Regions from separate parts of the Homo sapiens genome. Here region 2 is linked to region 1. The links are contacts of gene promoters, found by promoter capture Hi-C in blood cells and fetal thymus (Javierre and others, 2016). All regions are on one chromosome and are shown on one strand. The core of a region is centred on a gene start or on the middle of the fragment in contact, and the rest is flanking DNA. Distances in the headings are between cores, read along the strand shown. Region 1 holds the start of SLC4A5 (solute carrier family 4 member 5). Region 2 overlaps SLC4A5 (solute carrier family 4 member 5).

Evidence for each region. Contacts are between HindIII fragments. The CHiCAGO score rates a contact against its expected background, and 5 or more counts as called.
Region 2: a contact is called between a fragment that was not itself captured here and the fragment with the promoter of SLC4A5 in region 1, in 5 of 17 cell types (naive CD4 T cells, naive CD8 T cells, total CD4 T cells and 2 more). The highest score is 6.4, in naive CD4 T cells.

Annotation. Positions count from the first base shown.
Region 1 is chr2:74,341,745-74,346,152 of GRCh38, forward strand. It overlaps SLC4A5 (solute carrier family 4 member 5), which reads right to left and starts at 1,672. Exons shown (of 31, transcript NM_133478.3): 1 at 1,612-1,672; 2 at 714-790. The HindIII fragment of the contact is 2,074 bases long and covers 1,070-3,143 here.
Region 2 is chr2:74,226,636-74,230,548 of GRCh38, forward strand. It overlaps SLC4A5 (solute carrier family 4 member 5), which reads right to left. Exons shown (of 31, transcript NM_133478.3): 26 at 1,175-1,243; 27 at 322-495. Among named protein-coding and RNA genes, the nearest start is that of MTHFD2, 30 kb to the left of the region's middle. RefSeq lists an enhancer at 1,467-1,967. The HindIII fragment of the contact is 4,919 bases long and covers 1-3,913 here.

The sequences.
Region 1 (4,408 bases), core at 422-2,921:
GTTGCGGATTGCCCAGACTTAGAGTAAGAGGGGCAGAAATGAAGTAGGCATGGATGGTAATTTTGTTTTTCCATCAGGGCTGCTCTTACTCTGGAGTAAGGAGAGGAAGGCTAAGACACAAAAGGGGGACTCCGCCCAACCCAGCTTATGTCCTGTGATACCAGAAGGGAGCATTGCAATGACCTATTAAACCTCAAACCAAGCTGAATCCATTTCTGAGTAAGAGACTCTTACAGGGCTCCTGTCCTCAAAACTATATAAAATTGCTCAAATTATGTACTTCTGAGATAATAAATTAGCAGAAGAAGCACATAGCCCACCTCTTAAGATAGGGAAGTAGATCTGAAGTAGCTCAAGAAACAAAGTTTTCTACAGATGAAGGATGAGGGAAGGAAACCCAAGACCAGTTGATTCTGGTTTGGGAAATGATAACACTGGAGAACACACTCTACTATCTGTTTCTTGTGACATCCTTTGTGCTAAAGTTATCTCCTTTGTTGGCATGGCCACCATCCCTACTTCTAGTGCAGTGGAGATGTATGAGTGTCTCCATTGCTAAGTGTTTAGTTACTCAAGATAAACTTGACTGGAGAGGGTGTGGGCAGGCATTCAGTCAAGCAACAAGCCACTCACTGAGTGCCACCAATGGTGTGGGAAAAGATGACTCTCCTTAGACTGGTCCATCCAAAATAAAGGAGGTGGGGAGAGCATACCTGGGTGGTCTTCAGGGTACTCCTGGAAACATCCATCAGCTCATGAGCTCACAGCTGAATTCCAAATCCTGGGATGCCTGCTTGGAGGGAGGGTAAAACACCATTTCTCAGGGACAGAAGCCCACAAAGCTAAGGGCACTGGGTTTCTAAGTCAGGATTTCATCACGGCTGGATGACCCTTTTTTAAGGAAAGCCAGCTGATCTCCAGGACTCCTGATACATAAGAGCTATGCAGTCTGTCACTTCTAGGGAGAGAGATGGGGACTAGCTCTGGTTCCTCATGCGTTCCTTCCCTCTCACTCCCTAAAGACCTCAAGAAACAGATCCTTGGTAACAATGCCTTCTTTGGGCCAGAAAGCTTAGTTGAAGTGTGGATTCTTATACAAGTCTCATGTTTTCTGGACTCCTAGGAGACTCAGAGGAGACACCATAGGTAACCCTTATTGAACTGGAAGAAGTGTGAAGTACTATCAACCACTGAGACTCCCATGGCTCAAGAATATGCACAGAGGTCTAACTAGATATAGGTCTCAGCCCCTGACTTTAGAAGTCTGACATTCCACAGATATGCACACACTACACGCTCCCCTCACAGAGGAAACTGGAGTAGGGGGACACAGCAGAACAAAATCGCAACACTACTACAGGAAAACCTCGTCATTCCGTTACTTGTCCTTTGCTATGTTGGAATACTTATAGATTAGTTTCAACAATCAGGTTACTCCTTATCTTTGCTCTAAGTCTTGTACAGGCCTTTAGCAAAAAGCAATAAAATTCTCATCTGACTCTTGGTGGGCTGGGGAATCTGCCTATTCTATTCAGTTGGTTCACTCACATCTCCAAACCAGAACCTACAACCACTCTGTAACTTTATTTATGTAAAATCCACTCTACTTACCCCAGTGCAGTGGCCTGTGGCTCCTGGGCCCTGACTCCAATTCCTTTAGGGTGGACCTTGCAGTTGGAACCATCCACCTCTCGTTTTTTCTATCTCTGCTATTAACATAGCCCCTCCTCTATTGCCTCACCAACTATTTTCAAACCAAAAAGTCTTTGTCTATTCATAGCCACTGTAAAAGTAACATTCATTTTTCTGTTTTTTAATCTAATGTCTGCGTCTTCAGTGGTTCTCACTGGCTAATCTAATCAGTGTGTTCTAGGGAGGTTTATTCCTTGCCTGTTCAGCTTGTCCCAGCACAACAAAGGTAAGTCATTTGCCTGGGGAGAATCAGCTCTTTTAAATCAGACAATCCTCAGGAAAGATGTCAGGACTTTTGCCTCTTTTCTTCATGGGACTGAGATTCAGGAGAACATTCCACATTCCACTGCCACACAGCTCTGCAAACCCCAAATCCTGACTCTCCGAAGAAGGATATGGGCAAGGAAAACAAAGAAGGCATTTGAAAAAACCAAACCTTGCAAGAAAAACTTTGCGTACTTGGTGATTTTTCCAGGTTTATCCTGACTTTTGGCCTCTGTTTTTATGAATTCCATTTTTGTTTAAGTGAAAAAGATACGGTGAGAGAGACATAGTGGAAAATGGGAAGTTTGGAGGAAGATGGGAAGGAAGAAGCCAGTGAGTAGGAAGTGAGAATCGGGAGTGGAGGGAGTGAGGGACGCGGTGCTGAGCGATGGGGAAGAGAAGCATGCCAGGAAGGCGCAGCGTCTCTGGGCACCCAGCATGGGGCCTGGTATATGCACACATTTCCCCTCATTGAACTCTCAACAGTCCAGTGGGGAGAGCATTCTCGTCCCCAACCTTACAGAGCTGGAACAGAAGCTCAGAGACTTACAGACAGGAAGAAAAGTAGGAGCTGGAAGCCCCATTAAAAAAGCAACTCTACCCCTCTTCTTCCAGTCTCTTCTGTGGCTTCTCTAAGGGTCTTCAGCCTCCTTATTTCAGGGTTGACCTTCTCTTTCAGATAGGAAATTTATCATCTGGTTGGATATCCTCACTTTCTTCCTAGATCACGTGGAGTTTTCCCTTAGTGGAAAAGCCTCATTCCTGGATCTAGAGCCTGCTGGTGGCAGACATGTAAAAAACATGTTTCGGAGGCCATGCCCAAGCCAACACATTAACCCAACATTATAGTTTCTGTTAATAATCCATGGAATCAAAGACAGGCAAGACTAGGGAGATCAACACATGCTGGGTCACCAGAGGCTTTCCTGGTTTTAGCACAGAAGATCTGTGACCCAGGAAACCCCTTAGTCCCAGGAAGATCAGCACAGCCTAGGCCAGAAACAGTTTCGGGCCTTAGGGAATTTCCAGCTGGTTGGGGATTCAACAAATTCAGAAGAGTGTGAGGCTCCAAAAAGAAGCACAAAGGGAGGGAAGGGTTCAGTGAAAGAAAAATCACCCTTGTTTGGAGGATTACCTTGTTCCACAAATGTTCATGGCTTACCTACCAGCCCCATGTGTTAAAGAAAAGCTTTGTGGAGAAAATGGCCTTGGAGATGCAGTGAAGGGATAGGATAGGGGTAGGATTTAGAACAGTAGAACTACCAAGGGGTATCTGAGGCAGAGGGAAGAAGCCACAAAAAATATAGACATAAGAGGTGGGAGAACATAGCATAAATATCCTGAGAACTGGAGAGCAGTTTCCCTGGCACAGGGCAGGTTTGGGGAAATAAAGCTTTGGGCATGCGACGATAGGCTGGGTAGTCTATGGAGAGGTGTAAACATCAGCAAACATGTCTGAAGTGAAAGGAATGTGGAAGGGGACTTGGTACAAGAATGGAATAATGGACTTCACAGTGGATTGTAGCACAGGTGGAAAGACCAGTTGAGACGTTACTGCCAAGCATTCAAGTGAAACCCTTTGGTTTCTACCTACCCAGGTTTTGTTCAAATAATTTGGACATTTATTTCAGACACTTCAGGTTTGGGGTTTTTTTGTCTCTCACTTCACACAGGAATTTGAGGGTGAGCTTCATCTGGTTTGGTGAGGGTATTGGAAGGTATGGGGCAGGGGCTGTCCCTCCAGGATGCACAAAGGGAACAGGTTTGCAGGCTCAGGAATCCTCCTAATGGAGGAAGGAGGAAGGAGGGAGGAGGACCTGCCCTGGCAGCACCGTGCTTTCTTCCTCGTGTCTAGTGTCCACTGGGATTTGGCTGCTGCACTGCTTGTCTCCCTGTCCAGACCTAATGCCTCGTTAGCTGTTAACCAAAGCATGTTCCTTACTTATTTGAGAGGCTTTCTACCTTGCCAGAGAAAGACAGCCATTTGAATGTTCTCTGTGAGAAAAGGGAAAGGCAGTGTGGCGGTGTGAGACCACAGCCTGAAGTCCCCGACTGCCACCACCTGCCACAATATCCTGCTGCCACTCCCCAGCTCTGCTGTCTCTAAGCCTCAGTTTCCCACATGAACCAGGCGACTAAAGTGGGGATGGCAGATTTTCTCTCAGAAGGGAAAAGTGCTAGGCGTCAGGTCCAAAGAAGTATACTGTAAACCCCTCCTCGTATTCCAGCACTGCTTTGGAATGCTTTTTTTTTTTTTTTTTTTTTGCTTTGGATATTTTTCCTTTTTACTTTTTTTTTTTCAAGTTCTCTCATGAGGTTGCATACTTTACTTTTTTTCATTTAAAAAATGTAGTTCCAGTTGGACTTAGGGAGGAAAGAGAAGTAAATGTTAACAGTTCACTTTACAATCTTGAACGAATTTTTTACTTAAGGTTGATTTAACTTGGTAAGT
Region 2 (3,913 bases), core at 1,049-3,548, 110 kb before region 1:
TTGGCAGTGGGAACTCGGTCTCCTGGTTGAACTGATTTTCTTTCTCCGTCCCTCCCTGGAGCCAGGAGGTAGGGTGGCTCCTGGGTTCTCACTGAGCGGCTCTGACATTCCTTCCTCCGCCTCCTCTCTGCCCCACCCCACACCATCTGGCCTGGACTCACAACTCAAATCAGGTCATTCTGTGCCAGCCTCCGTGACCCGAGGGAGCCAGGCCACAGCTGACAGGAAGGCAGAAGGTGGCAGGAGGGGAGGTTGCGCTGCACCTCTGGGTTGCCCAGGCCAACCTGCCAGGCAGGAGGGGGAAGCCCGTGCCCACTTTACCATGACCGGGAAGATGATGGCAGCCACCGTGGATTTGAGGATCCAGAGCACCGCCAGGCAGAGGATCTGCACCAGGGTGAAGAGGTGGATCCGGCGCAGCGGCACGTGCCGCAGGAAGGCATGGTCCGGCTGGTGCTTGGCTGGCATCAGGAAGAGCTTGCAGCGTTCCCAGAACTAGGGGGACAGCGGGGGCTCAGCCAGGCAGCCAGACCCCGAGGGCCCGCTGGGTCCTGGGACTAGGGGAAGGGGTGCCTGGGTGGGGTCTCAGAGAGGGGAAGCCCCCTGCTCAGGCCTTAAGGATGCACGGGAGGGGGGCTGGAGGTGTCTAGGCGGATGCATAATGGGGTCTTAGAGAAAGGGTCCTGAGCCCTGGGTGAGGGGAGGAGCCCTGGAGCTGGCCACAAAATGGACATTGTCCATATTCAGGGAAAGTGCAAGTTAATTGTAACACAAACTGTTTAAGAATTCTGGGATTTCACAGTAAATACAGAACAAAACAAAAATGTTTTCTTCTGCATAGCTGCCTTAGGGAAGAGAGAGAGGTACAGTGAAATGCTCACTGGAGTCAGCTTCTTCTGGATTTTGAATTCTGACCCTCCGGTCCCCATCTGTAAAATGGGGATCAGAGGACCTAATTACATAGATTCAATTATATGAGGCCTATGAAGTGCCTAACATATTTATTTTGCCTGATAGCATCAGTAAGTGGTAGTATCATTATTACTATTATTCTTTCATTGAATTAGGACAATTGGGGACAATTGGGACAACTGAATTGGGGGTCTTGGTGACATGGAACCAGACATGGAATGTTGACTCCAGATCATGAAGGGATCTGGAGGGAAAGCCTTACCTGGATGCCATTCAGGGAGGCCACGCCCATGTAGAGGAAGACTCCGTACAGCACCGGCAGGGGGATACACTAAAATGAGAGCAGAGCTTTGGATCGGCCTCTGCCTGGGGCGGCCCTTGGCCACCCTGTTCTGGATGACAGTGGCTCCTGACCACAGAGGCAGCTAGGAAACTGGATATTTGGGGGAACAGAGAGTCAGCAGAACTGGGATGTGGGCAGGGGTGAAGATGAGGGTCACTGGGGCTGTACTGCCCCTTCTCTGGCTGGGGTAGCTGGCCCAGCATGCAGCTGCTCTCCTGGCCTGGCCCCTCACTGCACCGTGCGGAGGCCATGTGGTCTGGCTAAAGAAATGCCTTCTGGAAAGTGAGAAGACTCCACAGACTGCCCCCTCCTCATTCCTGCCCAGCTTCTTCCTACCTCCAGCCTCAGCTGAGGGTCCCCTAAAACTGCTCAGCCTGCAGGGGCATGGGGACTTTTAATGAGCTGATCTACATCAGCAGCGAGTACCCGGGACACTTAACAGAAATCACGCATCCGGCCGGGTGTGGTGGCTCACACCTGTAGTCCTAGCACTTTGGGAGGCCAAGGCAGGTGGATGACCTGAGGTCAGGAGTTTGAGACCAGCCTGGCCAACATGGTGAAACCCCGTCTCTACTAAAAATACAAAAAAATTAGCCAGGCGTGGTGGCACATGCCTGTAATCCCAGCAACTCAGGATGCTGAGGCAGAAGAATCGCTTGAATCCGGGAGATGGAGGTTGCGGTGAGCTGAGATCGTGCTACTGAACTCCAGCCTGGGCGAAAGAGACTCTGTCTCAAAAAAACCAAACAAAGCAAACAAACAAACCCCCCCGCCCCCCAAAAAAACCAAAAAAAAACAGAAATCATGCCTCATACGCAATCACATACAAAAGAAGCAGAACAAAAGTGTGTAAACTAATCAGCACTCATCACCAACTAACCACCAATAGTTTGGCGGGTATCCTTCCCTCCAAACTTGCACACAGGCAATTTGTTTGCTTTTTCAAAAATGGGATCATAGAATTCATCCCACTCTACAAGAATGATTCCAAATCTTCACAGCCTTTCAAAGCATTCTTCCGCTGTCTCTCTCAGCTGTTTCTGCCCCTTACCTTCTCTCTTTCACCTGCAGCTGTGGCTCCCCATGGTGAGCAGAGGCTGTTCCTCCTTGTGGTCATGTTAGAGCACTCCGGAGAGCACAGAGCACTATGCCAACACTAGGAGGGCTTTAGAGGAATTTTTTGCCCCTAAAGAAGTCTGTTCTTAGATTTGAGCTTTTTTTTTTTTCTTGAGACAGAGTCTCGATATGTTGGCCATTCTGGTCTCAAACTATTGTTCTCAAGTGATCCTCCCACCTCGGCCTCCCAAAGTGTTAGGATTACAGACATGGGCCACCATGCCTGGCCGATTCGAAGGTGTTTTTTTTTTTTGGGGGGGGCACGGAGTCTCACTCTGTCTTGCCCAGGCTGGAGTGCAGTGGTGCAATCTCGGCTCACTGCAGCCTCCACCTCCCGGGCTCAACCAATTCTCCCGTCTCAGCCTCCTGAGTAGCTGGGACTACAGGCATGTGCCACCATACCTGGCTATTTTTGTATTTTTAGTAGACACAGGGTTTCGGGTTTCACCATGTTGGCCAGGCTGGTCTTGAACTCCTGACCTTAGGTGATCCACCTGCCTCGGCCTCCCAAAGTGCTGGGATTACAGGCTTGAGCCACCACACCCAGCCTGATTCGAGCTTTTTAATGCAAATACTTGTATGTTAAACAGTGTCAAAATTGACATACACAATGGCACCTTAGAACCCTCTCTACAAAAGTAAGTAGTCCCTGGCCATTTAAAATATATTTTTCAATAAACAAAATGCTTGCCCTCCTGTGTGTAATTTGTTTCCCCCACAAGGGAAATATCCCTTAAAAAATGCCAGCCTCCTACTTACTGCTCGGGTATGCCCAGCACCAATTCTCAAGCCAGAAATATTTTCCATTGTAAATACATCAGCCAGAATCATCATTCTTTAGCGTTTGTTTCTTACAAGGTCACCTCTGAATGAGGTTTTTTTTTTTTTTTTTTGAGAAGAGGTCTCACTCTGTTGCCCAGGCTGGAGTGCAGTGGCATGATCATGGCTCACTGCAGCCTCGACCTCCTGGACTCAAGTGATCATGCCTCACATGTACCATCGTGCCTGGCTAATTTTTGTATTTTTTGTAGAGATGGGGGTCTTGCTATGTTGCCCAGGCTGGTCTCAAGTGATCCTCCCACCTCGGCCTCCCAAAGTCCTGGGATTACAGGCATGAGCCACCATGCCTGGTCATGAGCTGTTTTGAGATATTCAAAGAGGAAAAATAATATCGGCAAAAGGTTGAGGCAATTACAGGTAAACTTAATTCAAGAAAGGAAAGTCTTACGTGGGCACTGATCAAGGGAAAGGGAGAGTGATGGGCGATTGGCTGGAGTGGAGAGCAGGGAAGCCTGGTGGGAACACCTTGCTTTCTGGAGTCTCTCCAGAAAGAGACCCTTGTGGGGGACGCCTGCCTCCATTGTACCCCTACTTGACTTAGTCTCTTAGCTGTTGTGGTGGGACATAAGCAAGAGGAGCTTCAAGCTGTGTGGGAAAAAGTCACTCGAGTCCCCAGACTTCCTGAGCTCAGGTGATCCTCCCGCCTCAGCCTCCTGAGTAGCCGGACTACAGGGATGTACCACCATGTTTGGCCTCCTGCTG